Linked DNA regions of Homo sapiens: region 1 is linked to region 2. Evidence: promoter capture Hi-C in human tissues and cell types (Jung and others, 2019). All regions are on one chromosome and are shown on one strand. The core of a region is centred on a gene start or on the middle of the fragment in contact, and the rest is flanking DNA. Distances in the headings are between cores, read along the strand shown. Region 1 has its middle 13 kb from the start of RAB11FIP1. Region 2 holds the start of EIF4EBP1 (eukaryotic translation initiation factor 4E binding protein 1).

The links. Contacts are between HindIII fragments. The study calls those that stand out against the background at their distance.
Region 1: a contact is called between a fragment that was not itself captured here and the fragment with the promoter of EIF4EBP1 in region 2, in 3 of the 25 tissues and cell types used here (IMR-90 fibroblasts, bladder and liver).

What each region holds. Positions count from the first base shown.
Region 1 is chr8:37,910,658-37,914,660 of GRCh38, forward strand. No RefSeq gene overlaps it. Among named protein-coding and RNA genes, the nearest start is that of RAB11FIP1, 13 kb to the left of the region's middle. RefSeq lists an enhancer at 1-221. The HindIII fragment of the contact is 7,181 bases long and covers 1-4,003 here.
Region 2 is chr8:38,028,196-38,032,045 of GRCh38, forward strand. EIF4EBP1 (eukaryotic translation initiation factor 4E binding protein 1) reads left to right here and starts at 2,339. Exons shown (of 3, transcript NM_004095.4): 1 at 2,339-2,523. The coding sequence starts at 2,379. RefSeq lists a silencer at 2,120-2,559 and enhancers at 2,136-2,430, 3,060-3,159. The HindIII fragment of the contact is 9,944 bases long and covers 1-3,850 here.

The DNA of each region.
Region 1 (4,003 bases), core at 365-2,864, 120 kb before region 2:
CAGAAGTAGATGTTGGTGCCATGCTTCTTGTATGGCCAGAAGAACCAGCAGCCAAATGAACCTCTTTTCTTTATAAATTACCCAGCCTTGGGTATTCCTTATAGTAACACAAGCAGATGAAGACATTTAGTATTGTCTTTTGCATTTCACCCTTCTGGCGGCTGTGCAATAGTTTTAATTTTTATTTCCCTGGTGACTAATGAGGCTGTATGCTTTTTCTTAAGCTTTTTCACCATTTGGATATGGTTTTCTCGTGATGGGCCTACTCATATCTTTGGCCCATTTTTCTTCTGTCTTTGTATTGATTTGTAGATGTCATTACAAAGATAGAGATATCAAGTCTATAATGTAATGCAAGTATCCTCTCCCACTCTGTGGCATGCCTTTTCACTCTCTTAGTGGTGTTTCTTGATGAAAAGCAGTCTTAATTTTAATGACACCCAAATGATCAATCTTTTCTTTTATGGTTAGTGCTTTAAGTCCTTTCTAAGAAATCATTGCTGTCTCAAAGTCATGAATATATTCTCCTTTATTGTCTTATAAAAGCATTTTGGTTTGCCTTCCACCTTTATATTAGCAATCCACCTAATTTTTTGTATTATTCAAAGTTAATTTTTTTGAGACAGGGTCTTGCTCTGTCACCCAGGCTGCATGATCATGGCTCACAGCAGCCTCAACCTCCCAGGCTCAAGTGAGCCTCCTACCTCCGCCTCCCAAGTGTTAGTAGCTGGGACTATAGGCATGAGCCACAATGCTTGGCTAATTTTTGTAGTTTTTGTAGGTGTAGGGTTTCTCCACATTGCCCAGGTTAGTCTCAAACTCTTGAGCTCCAGTTATCCACCTGCCTCGGCCTCCCAAAGTTCTGGGATTACAGTGTGAGCCACTGTGCCTGGCCAAAAGTTAATTTAATTTTATTTTTTTTGAGATGGAGTCTTGCTCTGTCACCCAGGTTAGAGTGCAGTGGCTCCATCTCGCCTCACTGCAACCTCTGCCTCCTGGGTTCAAGCAATTCTCCTGTCTCAGCCTCCCGAGTAGCTGGGATTACAGGCATGAGCCACCACGCCTGGCTAATTTTTGTATTTTTAGTAGAGATGGGGTTTCGCCATGTTGGCCAGGCTGGTCTCGAACTCCTGACCTCAGGTGATCCACCCCCCTCGGCTTCCCAAAGTGCTGGGATTACAGGCGTGAGCTACTGCGCCCAACCCAAAAATTAATTTTTTAAAAAACATAAAATTATGAACTTTCATACAGACATAAAAATAAACATGTTAAAATTTTATTACACTTATTATTAAGAAAAACTAGTAAGGTGTTACAACCAGTTCAAAGGTGAATCCAAAGAATAGACGCATTTAGAGACCAGAAATATTGAAATGAATATGCAAATGGAGGCAAAGCTTGTTTTTCTGGAGGAGGGGGCAGGGAGTGTCCCTCCACTAGACAATTTGCTTTTATGAATTTTGCATTGCTTTCAATTGTCTACCAGACACAGAGCTGTAAAATAGCTATCATAGAATCAAAATCAGATAATCCAGAGAATGTACTATAGATAATGCAATTTTCCACTGAAGCACAAAATTTTCCCTACCATATAGTATCTGTTGGGATCAAGATTCATTTTTCCCCATATGAATACTGAAGGAACCCAAAAGATTTCACTCCGAAATATACTTTGACATTTAAAAAAAATTTTTTGAGACAGGGTTTCACTCTGTCACCCAGGCTGGAGTGTAGTGGCACCATCACTCACTGCAACCTCCGCCTCCCAGGTTCAAGTGATTCTCCCGCCTCAACCTCCTGAGTAGTTGGGAGTACAGGCGTGCACCACCACACCTGGCTAATTATCATTATCATTTTTTTTTTTTTTTGAGATGGAGTCTCGCTTTTTTTGTCGTTGCCCATGCTGGAGTGCAGTGGCACAATCTTGGCTCACTGCAACCTCCGCCTCCTGGGTTCAAGCGATTCTCCTGCCTCAGCCTCCCAAGTAGCTGGGATTACAGGCATGAGCCACCACACCTGGCTAATTTTTGTATTTTTAGTAGAGATGGGGTTTCACCATATTGGCCAGGCTGGTCTTGAATACCTGACCTCAGGTGATCCGCCAATCTCGGCCACCCAAAGTGCTGGGATTACAGGCATGAGCCACTGCGCCAGGCCTAATTTTTGTATTTTTAGTAGAGACAGAGTGTCACCATGGTGGCCAGGCTAGTCTCGAACTCCTGGCCTCAAGTGATCCACCTGCCTTGGTCTCCCCAACTGTTGGGATTACAGGCATAAGCCACCGGGCCCGCCTTAAATTTTTTCTGAGACAGCATCTCTCTCTGTCCCCCAGGCTGGAGGGCAGAGATGCGATCACAGCTCACTATGGGCTCCAGCAATCTTCCCACCTCAGCCTCCCAAAATATTGGAGTTACAAGCATGAGCTACCACATCCGGCCTAGTCTGACATATTTTGAGATGGTTGTTCAGAGGACCTGTGGACAGAAGGAGTCCTACCAAGCTGTCTTTTTCTTTTTTTTTTTGAGATGGAATTTCACTCTGTTGCCCGGGCTGGAGTGCAGGGACACCATCTAGGCTCACTGCAACCTCCCCCTCCTAGATTCAAGCAATTCTCCCTGCCTCAGCATCCTGACTGGCTGAGATTATGGTGCCCTCCGCCACACCTGGCTAATTTTTGTATTTTTAGTAGAGATGAAGTTTCACCATGTTGGTCAGGTTGGTCTTGAACTCTTTTTTTTTTTTTTTTTTTGAGACAGTTTCACTCTTGTTGCCTAGGCTGGAGTGCAATGGCGCAATCTCGGTTCACCGCAACCTCCACCTCCTGGGTTTTCAAGCAATTTTCCTGCCTCAGCCTCCCGAGTAGCTGGGATTACAGGCATGTGCTACCACACCCAGCTAATTTTGTATTTTTAGTAGAGACAGAGTTTCTCCATGTTGGTCAGGCTGGTCTCGAACTCCCGACCTCAGGTGATCTGCCTGCCTCAGCCTCCCAAAGTGCTGGGATTACAGGCGTGAGCCACCGCGCCCGGCCTTGGTCTCGAACTCTTAACCTCAAGTGATCTGCCTGCCTAGACCTCCCAAAGTACTGGGATTACAGGGATGAGCCACCGCGCCCAACCCCAAGCTGTCTTTTGTCGGGGAGATTTGCATCTGTTGAGAATCTGCGTGATGCAGCCAGGCTTTCTCTGAGATCCTCCCTTGCCTGGATCCAGGAAAGATGAACTGAGAGTCTGACACCATTAAAGGTCTGAAAGAAACATTTACCACCTATTCTCTCTGAAGGCTCCAACCTGTGAGATCCCCTCCATATAACAAGACACCTTTGCTAGCCAGTCCTCTCTTCTCTCCCTCCCATAAACTATTTTGCCATGAATCCAAGCCCCTATTCTTTCTGTAACTTCAAGATAGTATAAAAGCATCAATGACATTTTTCTTTGAGATCTTATATTTTGATAAGATTCCTGTTCACGTTAAAAACATTTGTGGGCCATTTCTCTTCCTAATCTGCCTTTTGTGAGTTGGTTTTTCAGCGGGTAGAGGGAAAGTTTTTCCTCAGCTCCTACAATATCCCATAGACCCAGTGCCATTTATTGAATGACCCAGCTTTCCCCTATGGGCCCGTCAATATCATGTTTCTGAACTCTATTCTGTTCCCTGGTCTATTTCATTATTACTGAACCAATACCATACTGTCTTAATTACCACAGTTTCATGACACATCTTAATATCTAGTAGTGTAAAGTCTTCAGCTTTGTACTTCCTCTGTCAAGATTTACCAGCTATTCTTAGACCTCTGCATTTCTTTTTTTCATTTTTTTCTTTTTTCTTTCTTTCTTTTTTTTTTTTTTCTTTTCGAGACAGGGTCTCATTCTGTCACCCAGTCCAGGGTAAAGTGGCACAATCTCGGCTCACTGCAACCTCATCCTCCGGGACTCAAGCAATCCCCCTGTTTCAGCCTCCCGAGTAGCTGGGACTACAGGTGAGTGCCACCGCGCCCAGCTAA
Region 2 (3,850 bases), core at 1,089-3,588:
GTGAGCCACAACACTGGGCTAATTTTTAAATTTTTTTGTAGAGACAGAGTTTCACCATGTTGCCCAGGCTTGTCTCAAACTCCTGAGCCCAAGCAGTCTGCTCACCTCGGTCTCCAAATGTGCTGGTATTACAGGTGTGATCCACAGCACCTGGATGAAATTAATTTTTTTTTTTTTTTTTTTTTGAGACGGAGTCTCACTCTGTCACCCAGGCTGGAGTGCAGTGGCAGATCTCTACTCACTACAACCTCTGCCTCCCAGGTTCAAGCAATTCTCCACCTCAGCCTCCCGAGTAGCTGGGATTACAGGCACCCGCCACTGTGCCCGGTCTGTTGTTTTTGTTTGTTTGTTTGTTTGTTTTGTTTTTTTGTATTTTTAGTAGAGACAGGGTTTCACCATCTTGGCCAGGCTGGTCTTGAACTCCTGACCTCATGATCCACCCGCCTAGGCCTCCCAAAGTGGTGGGATTACAGGCGTGAGCCACTGCACCCAGCCGAAATTTATTTTTTTTTCTTTTGAGACAGAGTCTTGCTCTGACGCCAGGCTGGAGTGCAGTGGCATGATTTCAGCTCACTGCAACCTCTGCCTCCCAGGTTCAAGCAATTCTCCTGCCTCAGCCTCCCGAGTAGCTGGGACTACAGGCATGCGCCACCATGCCCAGCTAATTTTTTTTATATTTTTAGTAGAGACAGGGTTTCACCATGTTGTCCAGGATGGTCTCGATCTCTTGACCTCATGATCCGCCTGCCTCGGCCTCCCAACGTGTTGGGATTACAGGCGTGAGCCACTGCGCCTGGCCCAAAATTAATTTTTATAATGTATTTTTCTTAACCCAGTATACTCAAAATATTATCAGTTCAACATACAATCAATATAGAAACAAATTATTCAGGTATTTTACATGATTTTCTTCACACTAAGTCTTTGAAATATGGTGTGTATGTTAAACTTGTGACAGTTTGGACTGGTCACATTTGGAGTGCTCAATGTGCACCTGTAGCTGGTGGCTACTGTCTTAGCCACTGTAGGCCTAAAGTTTCCCTCAAAAGTGAGACCAAACTCAACAGGTCTCCCTATCTCAGGCCTTGCCCTCCTTGGCCCATTCTGAAACTCCACTGGCTACTAGTTATCCTTCCAAAAAACAACTCAAATCATGTCATCCCCCTGCTTAAAAGATCTCTGATATCTCCTGCCCTTCTAAGACAAAGTCCAAGCACTTTGGCATAATTTGAAAAACTCAACGACCTGACCCCAATTTCCTTTTTAAAAAATTATTATATATTTTTTTAGAGATAGGGTCTCTGTCACAAAGGGTGGAGTGCAGTGGTGTGATCACAGCTCACTGGAGCCTCAAACCCCTGGGCTCAAGCATCCTCCAGCCTCAGCTTCCTGAGTAGCTGGGATTACAGGTGCACCACCCAATTTCCCTTTTAAACTGCCCTCCCCTCTTCACCCTCTTCCCCACAATATGTGCCCATAATGCTAAGAACTTCTCAAACCCAACAAGCTTTTCCATCCTCGGTCCTTCTTGCATTTTTCTCTCTCCCCTTGAACATCCATCCATCCATCCATCCATCCATCCATCCATCCATCCATCCAAGGAGTACCTACTAAACCTCAGGTGGACGTTGGACTCAATTCAGGGGCTATCGGGAAACCTCTTCGACACTCTTACTCCTCTCCAACGCCCTTCCCCACCACCCACCTCTGCGCCCCCAGCTCTAAATTTAGCTCCCAGGACGCCGCTGGTTGGTTCACTCCTCCTCCCACACCCTCTCTAAAGGCCGGGAACGGAATTGTTAGCCCCTCCACCCCCACCCCCATCAAGGTCAAGAAATTGAAGCGGGGCGGGGGGCGGTGAGCATAACTACTCAATCCCCATTTTCTCATCTGAGGAACTAAGGCACGAAACAGGGAGTGCCGAAGGGTACACCAGGCCTGATGTCCTAATGCAGAAACCGGGCCTTCCTGCAGTGGGCCGGGTCAGCTCGGATCTCCGCGCGGTCCTGAGTCGCCGCCCCCAACCCAGCCAAGGATTAATTTAGGCGAGCTATCCCGCCCGCCATCCCCATATCCGTCCCTGCCAGCGTGGCGGGGAGGGACCCCGGACGGAGGGGCAGTCGCTGCGGGGCGGCGCCAGCGCCCGTGCGGAAGAGCCCGTGAGCAGACGGGAGTGGGTCGGGGGGCGGCGGGGGATCCCACGTGGAAGCAGCGTCCTGGAGCTGGGTGGGGCTGCGGCGCGGACTACAAATCCCAGGGGCGTGGGGCGGGAGAGGCGGAAGGGGCGTCCTGGGGCGGGGCGGCACGGGGCGAGGCGGAGCGAGGCTGGAGGCGCGGGAGGGCAGCGAGAGGTTCGCGGGTGCAGCGCACAGGAGACCATGTCCGGGGGCAGCAGCTGCAGCCAGACCCCAAGCCGGGCCATCCCCGCCACTCGCCGGGTGGTGCTCGGCGACGGCGTGCAGCTCCCGCCCGGGGACTACAGCACGACCCCCGGCGGCACGCTCTTCAGCACCACCCCGGGAGGTAGGCGCGGGCTTGGCGACGCCGCTTGCCGGCTCCTGGGCGGGCGGGAGGATCGGGAATCGCGGATTGGACCGGGTGTCCAGGCTCAAGGGCGCCGTGATTGGAAAGAACGGAAAAGGGGCATCGGAGAGACAGCGAGGGTCATGGAAGTGGCCGCCCGCTTCCCCTCTGAGTGCGTCTTCCAGACCCGAGTTACAAACTGCCCCGTTTGTTTCCTCTTTCTGTTAGGTGTCAGACAGCTGACACCTAACAAACACGCACGCCTCCAGGACAGCCACATGCCGAGCTGTGCTGCCCCTTGTGGGTGTTGGGGGCGCTCCCGAAGCGGGAGAGGGCGGAGTTAGGGTGGCCCACGATCCAGGAGAGGCCTGGCCTGGTGTTTTTATGGGATGGGTATTATCTGTTGGGATAAACGATTCCTGCAGGGCCCTTTTTCCTTCCCGAAGCACGCCGAGTTTTGTGTTGGACTCGCGCGCTCTGACTGAGGTTCGGATCTGGGGGTGCTTGCCTGCTCCAGCAGCGCCTCCCGGGCACCTGTGGCACGTTCCCCATTTACGCGAGTGGGATCTCCGCGGGGGGGACCCTGGCGCCACGGCCAGGGCTGTGCAGAAAAACACGTTCTTCTGTCCGGGGAGAGGAGGAGGCACCGTGTGACCTCCCTGGGAGAGGATGAGGAAGAGGAAGCTGAGCTGGCACGGGTGGGGGGGCCAGCCTCGGGCTGCCCTCAGGAACCTGGCATTCCCTCCCAGCCCCGGAGCCCCAGCGCACAGACGCTGATGAAACCTACGCGCCTGTTTGCATGATGAAATAAATCCTCGTGGCTCTCTCCTCCCCTCTCATTGTCGCACTGCCCCCACCCCTTTTTGCTCCTCTCCCTTCATTCTCCTCCACGCTGCTTTCCATACTACTAGAAAACGCGACAGATCCTGGCGCTTGGCTAGGTGGCGGGCGGGGGCCACATGCTTATTTTCTCAGGCAGCTGTCCCACCAGCAGCGAGCGCGGCCAGATCCGAGGTCCTCTGCTGTTTGATCCAAAACATACACTGTTAGAACGGTTAGGGATCTTGTCCAGCCCTGCCGTCTTATTCTACAGAGCCCGGCATTGAGGCCCCAGAGCTTGAACACGTGTCTGTTGCCCATTGTCACACCGTTTTCCCAGATTGGACAAGAAATAGCAACCAGGCAGAGAAGGGAGAAATGCTTCCTTTTCTATTAGAAATGAGCCAAGGAAAAGCTCGCAGGGGCTCTTGTTGCCATTCCCGACTCATCCTCTTTCCCTTGCTGGGTCTTTTGTAGTCCATGCTGTTCTCCTTTGTCTCTGTCACAA